2 separate regions of the Homo sapiens genome follow, and region 2 is linked to region 1. The links are contacts of gene promoters, found by promoter capture Hi-C in human tissues and cell types (Jung and others, 2019). All regions are on one chromosome and are shown on one strand. The core of a region is centred on a gene start or on the middle of the fragment in contact, and the rest is flanking DNA. Distances in the headings are between cores, read along the strand shown. Region 1 holds the start of EIF2S3 (eukaryotic translation initiation factor 2 subunit gamma). Region 2 overlaps CXorf58 (chromosome X open reading frame 58).

Region 1 (7,638 bases), core at 3,855-6,354:
GGTGTACTGGGTCCCCCAGCAGTGCCAGCCCGCCGGCGCTGCTCTCGATTTCTCACGGAGCCTTAGCTGCCTTCCCGCAGGACAGGGCTCGGGACCTGCAGCCCGCCATGCCTGAGCCTCCCACCCACTCCATGGGCTCCTGTGCGGCCCCAGCCTCCCCGAGGAGCACCACCCCCTGCTCCACAGCGCCCAGTCCCATCGACCACCCAAGGGCTGAGGAATGCGAGCGCACGGCGCAGGACTGGCAGGCAGCTCCACCTGCAGCCCCGGTGCCGGATCCACTGGGTGGAGCCAGCTGGGCTCCTGAGTCTGGTGGGGACGTGGAGAGTCTTTATGTCTAGCTCAGGGATTGTAAATACACCAATCAGCACCCTGTGTTTACCTCAAGGTTTGTGAGTGCACCAATCAACACTCTGTATCTAGCTGCTCTGGTGGGGCCTTGGAGAACCTTTATGTCTAGCTCAGGGATTGTAAATACACCAATCAGCACCCTGTGTTTAGCTCAAGGTTTGTGAGTGCACCAGTCGACACTCTGTATCTAGCTGCTCTGGTGGGGCCTTGGAGAACCTTTATGTCTAGCTCAGGGATTGTAAATACACCAATCGGCACTCTGTATCTAGCTCAAGGTTTGTAAACATACCAATCAGCACCCTCTCTTTAGCTCAAGGTTTGTGAGTGCACCAATCGACACTCTGTATCTAGCTGCTCTGGTGGGGCCTTGGAGAACCTGTGTGTCAAAATTCTGTATCTAACTAATCTGATGGGGACATGGAGAACCTTTGTATCTAGCTCAGGGATTGTAAATGCACTCGGCTCTACCAATCAGCAGGATGTGGGTGGGGCCAGATAAGAGAATAAAAGCAGGCTGCCCGAGCCAGCATTGGCAACCTGCTTGGGTCTGCTTCCACACTGTGGAAGCTTTGTTCTTTCACTCTTTGCAATAAATGTTGCTACTGCTCACTCTGGGTCCACGCTGCTTTTATGAGCTGTAACACTCACCGCGAAGATCTGCAGCTTCACTCCTGAAGCCAGCGAGACCATGAGCCCACCGGGAGGAACGAACAACTCCAGACGTGCTGCCTTAAGAGCTGTAACACTCACCGCGAGGGTCTGCAGCTTCACTCCTGAGCCAGCGAGACCACGAACCCACCAGAAGGAAGAAACTCCAGACACATCCGAAACATCAGAAGGAACAAACTCCAGATGCGCCACCTTAAGAGCTGTAGCACTCACCGCGAGGGTCCACGGCCTCATTCTTGAAGTCAGTGAGACCAAGAACCCACCAATTCCGGACACACTAGGATTATAGGCACGAGGCCACCATGCCTGGCCTGTATTTTTTTTTTTTCCTCTGAGACAGGGTCTCACTCTGTCAGCCAGGCTGGAGTGCAGTGGCGCTATCTCGCTGGAGTTGTTTTTTTTTGTTTGTTTTTGTTTTTGAGACGGAGTCTCGCACTGTATCCCGGGCTGGAGTGCCATGGCACGATCTGGGTTTACTGCATCCTCCACCTTCCGGGTTCATGAGATTCTCCTGCCTCAACCTCCCGAGAAGCTGGGATTACTGGCGCACAGTACCACGCCCGGGAAATTTTTTTGTATTTTTAGTAGACAGGTTTCACTATGTTGGCCAGGCGGGTCTCAAACTCCTAACCTCATGATCCACCTGCCTTGGCTTCCCAGAGTGCTGGGATTACAGGCGTGAGCCACCAAGCCCGGCCGGATTTTTTTATTTAGATAAAGTTCACATGTCCTAAGATTCACCACATTAAACTGTACAATTCACTGGTTTTTAGCATATTTACAAAGATGTGCAATCATCACCACTGTATAATACCCCGGCATTTTAATCACCTCAGTGTGTTTTTGTAATTGGCTGGTATAAATATTTAGAATCTAAGATTAAGGCGGGGCGTGGTGGCTCAGGCCTGTAATCCCAGCACTTTGGAAGGCAGATCACTTTGAAGTCAGGAGTTTGAGACCAACCTGGCCAACAAGGTGAAACCTTGTCTCTAGTAAAAATACCAAAAAATTAGCTGGGCGTGGTGGCGTACACCTGTAATCCCAGTTACTTGGCAGGCTGAAGCACGGGAATTGCTTGAATCCAGGAGGCAGAGGTTGCAGTGAGCTGAGATTGTACCACTGCACTCCAGCCTGAGCGAGAGAGCACGACTCTGTCTCAAAAAAAAGAAAAAAAAAAAAGAATGTAAGATTAAAGTGATTACCTCCAGTTTTCACCATCACTTAACTAATGCATGCATTTATTGAAACATAACTTCCTATTTTAGCTAAATTGTTGTACCAAAAATTTATGTGATATAAAACACGTATTCATATAAATTTTACTTAAGTATTCAATGAACACACAGATAACCTAAATTCTATTTTTTTTTTTTTGAGACAGTCTGGCTCTGTTGTCCAGGCTAGAGTGCAATGTCTCAATCTCAGCTCACTGCAACCTCCCCCTCCCAGTTTCAAGCAATTCTGCCTCAGCCTCCCGAGTAGCTGGGATTACAGGTAGTGCCACCACGCCCAGGTAATTTTTCTATTTTTTAGGAGGGTTTTTGCCAGCTCAGGATTTTGGTCAGGCTGGTCTCGAACTCCTGATCTCAAGTGATCAGCCCACCTTGGCCTCCCAAAGTGCTGGGATTACAGACGTGAGCCACCGCACCCGGCCCAGAAAACCTAAATTCTTATTCACCTCTCCTTACATTTTTTTTCTGGTTTAAAATAGCTGTTTATAAAAAACAACTCCATTAAAAAGTGGGGAAAGGACATGAACAGACACTTCTCAAAAGAAGGCATACATGCGGCCAACAAACACGGAAAAAAGCTCAATATCACTGATAATTCGAGAAATGCAAATCAAAACCACATGAGATACCACCTCACACTAGTCAGAATGGTGATTGTTAAAAAGTCAAAAAACAAAAGATGCTGGCGAGGTTGTGGAGAAAAAGGAACGCTCTTACACTATTTGTGGGGGTGTAAATTAGTTCAACCATTGTGGAAGACAGAGTGGCAATTCCTCAAAGCCCTAGAGGCCGAAATACCATTAGACCAAGCAATCTCATTACTGGGTATATAGCCTCTAAAATATAAACCATTCTGTTATAAAGATACATGCACACATATGCTCACTGCAGCACTATTCACAATAGCAAAGACGTGGAATCAACCCAAATGCTCATCAATGATAGACTGGATAAACAAAATGTGGTACATACACACCATGGAATACCATGCAGCCATAAAAAGGAACAACATCATATCCTTTGCAGGGACATGGATGGAGCCGAAAGCCATTATTCTCAGCAAAGTAACGCAGGAGCAGAAAACCAAATACCGCATGTTACCACTTATAAGTGGGAGCTGAGTGGTGAGAACACATGGACACATGCGGGGGAACAACACACACTGGGGGCTGTCTGACGGCTGGGGGTGGGAGGAGAGAGAGCATCAGGAAGAACAGCTAATGGATGCTGGGCTTAATACCTAGGTGATGGGATGATCTGCGCAGCAAACCACCATGGCACACAGTTTACCTATGTAACAAACCTGCATATCCTGCGCATGCACCCCTGAACTTAAAAGTCGGGGGGAAAAAAAAGAGAGGTAGCAATTATCACCTTAATGAATTCCTTTCTTCACTTCTCATATTGCCCCTCATTTTCCCTAATTTCCCTCATTTTTTTCATTTATAATATATATATATTTTGAGACGGAGTCTCGCTCTGTCACCCAGGCTGGAGTGCGGTTGGCGCGATCTCAGCTCACGGCAAGCTCCGCCTTCCGGGTTCACGCCATTCTCCTGCCTCAGCCTCCGGAGTAGCTGGGACTACAGGCGCCCGCCACCACGGGCGGCTAATTTTTTTTTTTTTTTGTATTTTTAGTAGAGACGGAGTTTCACCATATTGGCCAGGCTGGTCTCGAATTCCTGACCTCGTGATCCACCCGCCTCAGCCTCCCAAAGTGCTGGGATTACAGGCGTGAGCCACCGCGCCCGGCCTCATAATATTTATTTCCTAAATAAGCTAACTTGATGACTACTTACAAGTATTCTAAAGTGAGCTTGGCTTCTCAGTATTCGTCATTGTGGCTTTCATATTATCTTTTCACTTCTCTTTACTATACTTTTGCATAATAGCTGTCTAACAAGTTTTTATGGAAATAAATTTATTGCAAACAAAAAAGGAAATAGCTGTTTATGATAAAATTTGTATAGAAATGCAAGGAGAAAAACAAATCACTCAACTGCTTTTCAACACGACGAAAAGTGGGTTAAGGTCTCAAAATTCTTTAAATTTTAAAATACCGATTTATCGGTAATCGAGGTTTTTTTGGATCTGCTTCTTTAAGAAAAAAAAAAACAAAACACACACACACAAACCAGCGAACTTCAGACGCTCTTACGACACCTAGCTATATTCACTGGGAACGCAATCTAACGTCACCAAGGCCCACCTCCCGGGCCCTAGAAATCGCTCTCTGGGAACAAGCTGGGGACTTTGATTTTGCTAGCCCTGCCCCTCTGAGCCCTTCACCAAACTTCCGCGCGGGGGCGCCCGCCCCACCTCCCGCCGGGGCTCAGCACGCGGCCTTCTCCCAGCCAAGAGCCCCGTCATAGGTGGGCGCCGACCCCGAGCCGATCTCGCTTTATTAAATTACAGAAATCGGTATTCAAAAAAAAAAAAAAAAAAGGGCGGGGAGGACACTCCCTCTTCTCTGTTCCCACACCCTAGCTGATTCCCAGGTTTCGGGAAACTCCACAGGAAACGGAAATGGTCTCTCCCAGGCCAGCGCGCGCGCCGGGTTGCATCACCCGCCTCGCACGGGCCGGCGGGGCGGGGGTTTGGTGGCTGCCCTCAGTATTGCCTGCACAAATATCTACCAGGTCTGCGACGAATAGCTCCAGCAACTTCGCACCGTGTTTTCCACTCAGCCTACCGACAGGCACTGTGCAGATTCAAGCGGAGAGATGTCCAAGCAGTGAGGCCGCTGCTGCACCGGCCATCCTGAGCCCCTACTCGGCCTTCCCGTCTCCGCTTCCCCGCCCCGCACTAGGACCCCTGCAGATGATCAGGCGGCAGCCGGGGTGATTTCCTTCCTCTTTTGGCAACATGGCGGGCGGAGAAGCTGGAGTGACTCTAGGGCAGCCGCATCTTTCGCGTCAGGATCTCACCACCTTGGTGAGGTTTTGCTTGGGGAGGATGCAGAGTGAGCTCAGGAGTGGAGGTGACCGAGCCTCCCGGTGGTATTGGGACTAGTCAGTGTCGGGAGCATGGGTCAGGAGCCTGGGTCAGGAGGGAGACCTGGAACTGGGCGCCCTAAGCCATGCTCGCGCCGCCTGTACCCAGGCCAGTCCACGATCTGGGCGCAGGCGTGTACGGTCGTGGGACTTCTAGCTTCTGGAGGGTTCGGCTGGAAAGTCTTGATGTTGATTGTCATGGTTTCAGCCTCTGAACGTCTGGGAAGGGGGTGTCCTGTCTGCATTACTTTTAGTGCTAATGTTCCCAAGATTGGGGGGATCTCTGACTTCCAGATATCCCCTAATAGTTGAGTGGAGGTGTAGTCTGTTGTGTAATGATGAAGGGCTCTTAACAGCTTCCCAGCCATAGGAGTACAAAGTTACTGATAGGGAAAAGGAGCTTTAGAAGTAGTGGAAAGCTGTGCAGATGGTGGCAAGATGTAGATAGCAAACGTAAAGTCAAAGGAAAAGTTCTCATTTGTTTTACGTGCAGTGTTTTAAAATATATTTCATTGCAGGATGTTACCAAGTTGACGCCACTTTCACACGAAGTTATCAGCAGACAAGCCACAATTAACATAGGTAAGAGTAACTTAAGAGACCTAACCTTGGTCTCCAACAATTAATTTTAACCTCACTTTTTGTGTGATTACTTGAATAGTATGAGGATTCAGATATTCAAGAAATAGATACTGAGTCCTTGTGAATAAAGCATCTGCTACATTTGCGGTGCAGGGGGAGCACAAAGAATGCTGCCCACATGTAGCTTACAGACTCGGTAAGAAGAAAAAATGGAGACATAAGAAAAGTTTAATAGCATAAGGCAGTATGTAGTCATATGTAGCAGAAGTTTAAGGAAGAGGTGAAAAATGTGGCTGTACTTGACACACAGGATTATTTCAAGGGCAGAATTTATGAAAGTTTTATTTGATGTACAAGCTGTGATTAAATAGAAGGTTTTTTTTCTTAATTGGCACCTAGAACTTTAGAGGAGAAGTTACGTTGACTGAGTGTAAATTTTGGACATTTTGAGTTTGTACAAACAGCACAGTTTGTACGAAAGTAAGTTAAAAAGTACAGAAGTAAGTTAAAAAGTAAGACTAGTTTTTAACCTAGTTAAAAAGTAAGACTCCACCATGAGGCTATTAAAGTTACAGTATTACAGTCTGGAGCTTTAATTTATTAATGCAAACAAAGCCCAAATAAGCCTACAGGCCTTGAACTACTGCCCCTGCATTAAAAATTTTGGTTGAGGTGACCTTGGAGCATAACCTAACCTCCGAACAACCTATGCTAAGACTATACCAGTTAAAGCAAATTACTGTGCATATATTGACCCAATAATTTGATCAACGGAACAAGTTGCAATTAAACTTAGGTTGTTTCCTTGTTTGTTCACAGATCCCTTTTTGTTGTGTCAGGGCCCATCATACCTGTTTAATCTGGAAATGCTGGAAGGTTCCTTAATATATAAAGTTCTGGCCGGGTGCAGTGGCTTATGCTTGTAATCCCAGCCCTTTGGGAGGCCAAGGCAGGTGGATTGCTTGAGCCCAGGAGTTGGAGACCACCTGGGCAACGTGGCCAAACCCCATCTCTACAAAAAATACAAAAAATTAGCTGTGCGTGGTGGTGCATGCCTGCAGTCCCAGCTACTAAGGAGGCCGAGGTCGGAGGATTGCTCAAGCCCAGGTGGTTGAGGTTGCAGTGAGCTGTGATCAGGGCATTGCATTCCAGCCTGGGCAGCAGCAGGAGACCCTGTCTGTCCCAGAGTATATTTTTTAAGTAAAGCTGTTAGTTACATGGAAGTTTCTCTTAAGTCCTATATGAGAACACGTTTCTAGTAGGAAGGGGTATGGAGGAGGAAAAATTGAAGTCACTGTTGGTTTTATGTTGATATTTACAGCAAGTTATGGCTTTGGCTTTAATTGTATTTATTTATTTATTTATTTATTTGCGACGGAGTCTCGCTCTGTTGCCAGGCTGGAGTGCAGTGGCACGATCTCGGCTCACTGCAGCCTCCACCTCCTGGGTTCAAGTGATTCTTTTGCCTCAGCCTCCCCAGTAGCTGGGACTACAGGCATGCGCCACCACGCCCAGCTAATTTTTGTATTTTTAGTAGAGATGGGGTTTCACCATGTTGGCCAGGATGGTCTTGCTCTCTTGACCTTGTGATCCACCCACCTCGGCCTCCCAAAGTGCTGGGATTACTGGCGTGAGCCACCGTGTCCAGCTGGCTTTGGGTTTTCTACTCTTAACACTATTTGAAAAAATATTTGGTATGTAATTAAATACACATGAATTAATTTTTTGAACTTTGTCCATAGGTACAATTGGTCATGTAGCTCATGGGAAATCCACAGTCGTCAAAGCTATTTCTGGAGTTCATACTGTCA
Region 2 (7,638 bases), core at 3,813-6,312, 130 kb before region 1:
GTTATCCCTTTGAATAAACTTTCTACCCTGATCTATCTCTCTACCTCCTTTTTAGGGCCAATAATTCTTAGATTCACCCTTTTGAGGCTATTTTCTAGATCTTGTAGGCATGAGTCATTCTTTTTTATTTGTTTTCTTTTGTCTGCTCTAATTGTGTATTTTCAAATAGCCTATCTTCAAGTTCACTAATTCTTCTGCATGATCAGTTCCTCTGTTAGGAGACTCTGATGCATTCTTCAGTGTGTCCATTGCATTTTTCAGCTCCAGAATTTCTTTCTGCTCGATTATTTTTAATTATTTCATTCTCTTTGTTAAATTTATCTGATAGGTTTCTGAATTCCTTCTCTGTGTTATCTTGAATTTTGTTGAGCTTTCTCAAAACAGCTATTTTGTTTGTTTTTTGTTTTTTTACGTCAGAACATGAACACAAAAACAGCTATTTTGAATTCTCTATCTGAAAGGTTACATACCTCTGTCTCTCTAGGATTGATCACTGGTGCCTTATTTAGTTTCTTTGGTGAGGTCATGTTTTCCTGAATGGTCCTGATGCTTATGGATGTTTGCCAATGTCTGGGCATCGAAGAGTTAGGTATCGTAGTATTTACTGTAGTCTTTACAGTCTGCGCTTGTTTGTAACCTGTCCTTCGTGAAAAGGCTTTCCAAGTATTCAAAGGGACTCAGGTGTCGTGATCTAAATCTTTGGTCACTGCAGCCATATCTGCATTAGGGGGCACCCCAAGCCCAGTAACACTGTGGCTCTTGCAGACTTGTAGAAGTACTGCCTTGTTGTTCTTGGCTAAGATCCGGAAGAATTCCCTGGATTACCAGGCAGAGACTTTTGTTCTCTTTCCCTACTTTTCCCCCAATAAATGGAATCTCTCTCTTTCTGTACTGAGCAGCCTGGAGCTGGGGGACGGGTAAAACAAGCACCCTTGTGGCCACCACCACCACTGGGACTGCACTGGGTCGGACCTGAAGCAAGCATAGCACTGGGTCTCTCCCAAGGCCCACAGTGACCACTGCCTGGCTACCATTTACTCAAGGCCCAAGGGCTCTACAGTCAGCAGGTGGCAAATCCGGATAGGCTTGTGATGTAAACCACACTTTTAATAGCAAGGCTCTACAGTACAGGTTTTACTCCTTGGACCCTTATACATGACTATATTTAAGTTTTAAAAAGATGGACATTCTCATATTTGGCCATTTATAAACCACATATCAAAGGTTATTTTTCTGTAACCCTGGCAAGATCCCCCTTCTGGAAATGTACACAAAAACTGTGGCCCATCTTAAATCATGAGTTCTAGCATGTATGCAGGAGAGAAGACCACACAGCCTGGCAGTTTCTGATCAGATCCTGCATGTGCGGCATTGACTCTGAAGAGTTTTAGAAAAGGAAAAGGGACCACTTTTCTCCATGTTCTCAGGTAGTATCAGAGAAAATTTAACTTTATTTCAGAAAATTATCAAATGAAGCCAGGCTCGGTGGCTCATGCCTGTAATCCCAGCACTTTGGGAGGCCGAGGCGGGAGGATAACCTGAGGTCAGGAGTTCGAGACCAGCCTGGCCAACATGGTGAAACCCCGTTTCTACCTAAAATACAAAATTAGCCGGGTGTGGTGGTGGGCGCCTGTAATCCCAGTTACTTGGGAGGCTGAGGCAAGAGAATCGCTTGAACCCAGGAGGCAGAGGTTGCAGTGAGCTGAGATTGCACCATTGCACTCCAGCCTGGGCAACAAGAGCAAAACTCCGTCCAAAAAAAAAAAAAAAACACCTAGAAAATGAGCTACATGTTTTCATTATGGAATATGGTGTTTCAAGAACATTAATATTTATATAGATCAACTTCAAATGTGGAAGTATATGTTTATCCTACTTGAAGGATAAATTTATGCCACATTTATGTATAGAATAAGCTTGTAGTTACCCCTATAAAATATCATCAATTGTTTCTTTCCTAGGATTATATAATGAGGCTTTTTCAAGAACTGAAATCCTCCTGGGTCTACTCCTGCCACCCCCTTGCTGTACACAGGCTTGAGCAAATGAGAACCTTAGAGGCAGTGATTGGAAATCACTGCTTATGCATTAAAACCCATCATAATGCTGTATAATAACTTAAATTTTTGTTTAAATTAGCCCACAGATAGAAAAATATGCCTCCGTGCCTTTATCTTCTGTGCTACAACTTTCACTCTCCTGGGGTAGTCATTGTTAATGGTTTGCTGTGTATCCTTCATGTTTCCCATGAAAATACACACATAGAGATTTTTAAATTTTGTTCTTATTATAAAAGTGTGGTCATATTATTGACCTTGAATTTTTCACTAAACATCATAACGGGTTTTAAATGATCAGAACATACCCAACTTGAACAGTTTAAGGTTCCTTTTTCCCTTTAGTTCAGCTTCAAACTCTGGTAACACTTGGATTCATGGTTGATAGAAAACTTGTAAATATGGAATATTTCTCACTCTAAGCTTACTCAACTCTGTTGCTCTTTGTCTCTTTGTGTTTTTTGTTTGTTTTTGTTTTTTGTGTTTTTGTTTTTTGTTGTTGTTGTTGTTGTTTTTTAGACAAGGTCTTAATCTGTTGCCAAAGCTGGAGTGCAGTGGCACCATCTCGCAATCTTGGCTCACTGCAACCTCCCCCTCCCAGGCTCAAGCAATTCTCATGTCTTAGCCAGCTGAGTAGCTGGGATTACAGACATGTGCCACCATGCCTGGCTAATTTTTGCATTTTTTTTTAGTAGAAAGGAGGTTTTGCTATGTTGGCCAGGCTGATCTCGAACTCCTGGCCTCAAGCGATCTGCCCACTTCCGCCTCCCAAAGTGCTGAGCCTACTGAGCACTTTCTATCAAATATGATCTTAAACATTTTATGCACATTACTCTATTTAATTATCATAAACACTACAGTGTATTTTCTGTTATTATCCTCATTTTAAAAAAGACTGAGGGCCGGGTGCTGTGGCTCACGCTTGTAATCCTAACACTTTGGGAGGCCGAGGCAGGCGGATCACTTGAGGTCAGGAGTTTGAGACCAGCCTGGCCAACATGGTGAAACCCATCTCTACTAAAAATACAAATATTAGCCAAGCGCGGTGGCACGTGCCTGTAATCCCAGCTACTCGGGAGGCTAAGGCAGGAGGATCGCTTGAACCCAGGAGGCGGAGGTTGCAGTGAGCCGAGATTGCACCACTGCACTCCAGCCTGAGTGACAGAGTGAGAGTCTGTCTCAAAAAAACAAAAACAAAAACAAACAAACAAAAAAGACTAACTTGCCTAAGGTCTCACACCTGGAAAATGAAGGAACCGAGATCAAGACCTAGTAGCCTGCCTCCAAAGTCCCAGTTCTTAACCACTCCTGAGAGTTAGGAACTATGCTAAACAGCAGCATACACATTCTCTTAGATGGCCCTGCAATAACTCTGGTTAGGGACACATTATTCCCATTTTCCCTATTAGGAAGCTAGAAGTTGGAAAGACTTGCCAGGAGCATAACTGAGACTTGAACACTTCTCTGTGTTTCCACTGTACTATGTACATTTTGAGGTTAAAACAACCATGCAGTTATGGTGGTTTTGTTTATTCTGAACCTGTATGTAATTGGACTGTTCCAAACCAAGAAACTGTTCCAATGCATGGATACCAGTTATTACCTCTTCCATGAGTGACAGTTCCCAGTAGAAACAGGAAAGTGTCTTGAGATACTAGAGTAGCTTTACAAGCCCAAGTGTGGATCTAGGCCAGCAAATAGCCACAGAGCTGTGGGGGCTTCTGGCCACAGAGATGCTGAGTATCAGGATAAGTGCCAGATTTAGAGATGGCCCGCTTTGACGCTTTGAGTCACCCACTAAGAACAGAACCTGCCTCTTGAATCCTACCCTGATTGGCTGGTATCCTGGAATCTTTGCCTAGTTTTTGCCCTTGCTTTTCTCCTGGCTCTAGGCTCTTCTTTCCCATTGCTTCCTATGGAGAAGGACTTTCTTGACTTTGGCCATACACTGCAGATGTCTGAGAAAGAACATCTTGGCCATTGGACAGCAAACATTTCTCAAACCCCTCTCACAGGTGGGCAGAGAGCTTGCCCTATGCTGCCAGGCATGTTTTTCTTTGGCTGAGGGACCAGAATGGGCCAGACACAGATGAGGCACACAACTGAGGCACTGCACACATAAGGAAACTGGGTCTTGGAGAGATTGGTGGTGGTGGCTGAGTGGGGCAGTGTAGGGAGGACCTGTCAATAAATACCTTTTTGGGGAGGCTAAGGTGGGCGGATCACTTGAGGTCATTTCAGGACCAGTGTGGCCAAAATGGCGAAATTGTCTCTACTAAAAATACAAAAAAAAAAAATTAGCCAGGCATGGTGGCACGCACCTGTAGTCCCAGCTACTCAGGAGGCTGAGGCAGGAGAATTGCTTGAACCCGGGAGGCAGAGGTTACAGTGAGTCAAGATGGCACCACTGCACTCCAGCCTGGGCGATAGAGGGAGACTCTGTCTCAGAAAAAAAAAAAAAAACCCTAAATAAATACCTTTTGTACTGTGGCTCACGCCTGTAATCCCAGCACTTTGGGAGGCCAAGGCAGGCAGATCACCTGAGGTCAGGAGTTTGAGACCAGCCTGGCCAACATGGTGAAACCCCATCTCTACTGAAAATACAGAAATTAGCTGGGCGTAACCCCAACACTTTGGGAGGCCGAGGCAGGTGGAACAGAAGATCAGGAGTTCGAGACCAGCCTGGCCAACATAGTGAAACCCCGTCTCTATTGAAAACAAAAATTAGCTGGGCATGGTGGTGCACGCCTGTAGTCCCAGCTACTCAGGAGGCTGAGGCAGGAGAATCGCTCGAATCCAGAAGGCGGAGGTTGCCGTCTGCCGAAATGGCACCTCTGCACTCCAGCCTGGGTGACAGAGCAAGACTCCGTCTCAAAAAATAAAAATAAAAATTTTAAAAACCCTTTTTTAGTAACTTCAGCTAAAGTAAATTATAGTTATGCCTACAGAAATTCCTAAAGCAGAAATTATATGGTCTTCATACCTGTTCAGTGTACAATTACTTGTTTTTACCTTTAGTGTCACTGTGGGGCTGGTTAATTAGAACCATAAAATGTTGGAAATTAATTGCAAGAAAACATAATGGAGAGATTTGCCAATACTATCTTTATTTTATTTATTTATTTATTTATTTATTTATTTATTTATGAGGTGGAGTCTCACTCTGTCGCCCAGGCTGGAGTGCAGTGGCACAATCTCGGCTCAGTGCAACCTCCACCTCCTGGGTTCAAGCGATTCTCCTGCCTCAGCCTCCCAAGTAGCTGGGATTACAGGTGCTCACCACCCTGCCTAGCTAATTTTTGTGTTTTTTAGTAGAGACGGGGTTTCACCATGTTGGCCAGGCTGGAATCGAACCCCTGACCTCAGGTGATCCACCTGCTTTGGCCTCCCAGAGTGCTGGGATTACAGGTGTGAGCTACTACACCCGGCCTATCTTTTCTTTAGTTGTGTAATGTATAAAGAAATTTGTTGTGGGGATGAGGGAGGGGGGAGGGATAGCATTAGGAGATATACCTAATGTTAAATGACGAGTTGATGGGTGCAGCACACCAACATGGCACATGTATACATATGTAACTAACCTGCACATTATGCACATGTACCCTAAAACTTAAAGTGTAATAATAAAAAAAGGGAAATATTTATGGTTATGGAAATGCTTGCCCTGATAAAAATCCTACATATTGTTTTTTTAAATTCACATTTTATGCTTATACAATCTCTAGAGCTCTTACTATGTTGCTATAAGACAGTAATATAGTGATAATTTACCAACTTTATTGAAAATGTTGTTACATCAATAAAATAGCATGCTGGAAAAAAAAGAAGAAATTAATGAAATATAAAGCAAAAATGATCTACCTAAAGGAAAGCTCCATATCACATTTTCACTAAACTGTTTGTCTCTTCAGTTCTATACGTTAGGAATAAAACTTCAACCATTCAACCATTTGAATGTTTTCTTCCTTTTTCATTTTCTACATGTGTCTGTGATATTCTAAGCTTTGGAATTTAAAAAAATAAATAAAGGAATAGTCTGAATAACAAAAGTGAGAATTGGAATAGAAAATGCATTATAGCTTGCTGTTGTGTGTTAAGAAAAAAGAACAGTGATTCTCAGTTTTGATCCTGTCTCAACCACTCTTTCTTTTCTCTTTTTTTTTTTTTTTTTTTGAGACAGCATCTCACTCTGTCACCCAGACTGGAGTGCAGTGGCATGATCTCAGCTCACTGCAACCTCCACCTCTCAGGTTCAAGCATTTCTCCTGCCTCAGCCTCCCGAGTAGCTGGGTTTACAGGCACATGCCACCATGCTAGGCAAATTTTTGTATTTTTAGTAGAAAAAGGGTTTTGCCATGTTTGCCAGGCTGATCTCGAACTCCTGACCTCAGGCGATCCGCCTGCCTCGGCCTTCCAAAGTGCTGAGATTACAGGTGTGAACCACCGTGCCTGGCCTCAACCACTCTTTTAGGCCTTGTATCAACATTATAACAGAGTTCCCATACTTTCACAAATACCGCATTCTGACATACAAAGGAAGAAAGAAACTTAACTGGAATCAAAAGATGTTTGAATTTTCTTTTCTTTTCTTTTCTTTTTTTTTTTTTTTTTTTTGAGACAGAGTCTTGCTGTGTCCCCTAGGCTGGAGTACAGTGGCATGATCTCGGCTCACTGCAACCTCCGCCTCCTGGGTTCAAGCGATTCTCCTGCCTCAGCCTCCCGAGCAGCTGACATTACAGGCACCTGCCACCACGCCTGGCTAATTTTTGTATTTTTAGTAGAGACGGGGTTTCACCATGTTGGCCAGGCTGGTCTCGAACTCCTGACCTCAGGTGATCCACCTGCATCGGCCTCCCAAAGTGCTGGAATTACAGGAGTGAGCCACCACGCCCGCCCTGAATTTTCTTTTGTGCTATCCTTCCCTTCATATAAACATACCCTTTGTGGCCAGAAGTACAGATCTGTAATATAAATATGTGTTAGAAGAGTCAGCACATACTTATGGCGGGGGTGCAGAGTACTTAAGTCTCTACTCACAGTCTATGTATAGCTCTTAGCACAGGATACTTATATGTGGAAGGGTATGGTATAAGTAGGGCCCAACAGGATTTGAGCTTCCATATATTCTGTGATTCTTCTGTCTCTGACCTCTCAGGTGCTTTCCTTGAGCATAAAATGTTGACATTTGGGAGAGAAAAGAAAACCCCTCTATTTGCCACTTTTTAGCTGCTGAGAATGAAGTCTGAAGGGAGGGAGGCTTAAACAGTCTGAAACATACATGTTTCCACTTACCAGCAGTGTATTAACACATAAAAGAGAGGTGGTACTAGTGACACCTTTCATTGCAGTTCCTACGGTAACTCGTTGAATCACCAGATAAGTTTTCTCTGCATTGACTGCACGAATGATATTACAGGTTTGTTTTGCTTTTCAAAATAAAAGAATTAAAAGTCTTTTAAGGGGAAAAACCAGTTGTTTTAAAACTATGTTCTCTGAGGATTCTGGACTCAGCAATTCCTCTAGCTGCATTTAAAAACTATGTAGATGGCCTGGCGCGGTGGCTCACGCCTATAATCCCGCA

What was found. Contacts are between HindIII fragments. The study calls those that stand out against the background at their distance.
Region 2: a fragment that was not itself captured here is called in contact with the fragment with the promoter of EIF2S3 in region 1 in 1 of the 25 tissues and cell types used here (heart right ventricle).

The regions. Positions count from the first base shown.
Region 1 is chrX:24,049,852-24,057,489 of GRCh38, forward strand. EIF2S3 (eukaryotic translation initiation factor 2 subunit gamma) reads left to right here and starts at 5,105. Exons shown (of 12, transcript NM_001415.4): 1 at 5,105-5,186; 2 at 5,764-5,827; 3 at 7,570-7,638. The coding sequence starts at 5,118. RefSeq lists a silencer at 4,454-4,663 and enhancers at 4,724-5,273, 5,294-5,363. The HindIII fragment of the contact is 10,457 bases long and covers 1-7,638 here.
Region 2 is chrX:23,919,136-23,926,773 of GRCh38, forward strand. All of the region lies in intron 5 of CXorf58 (chromosome X open reading frame 58), which reads left to right. Among named protein-coding and RNA genes, the nearest start is that of CXorf58, 15 kb to the left of the region's middle. The HindIII fragment of the contact is 5,728 bases long and covers 2,199-7,638 here.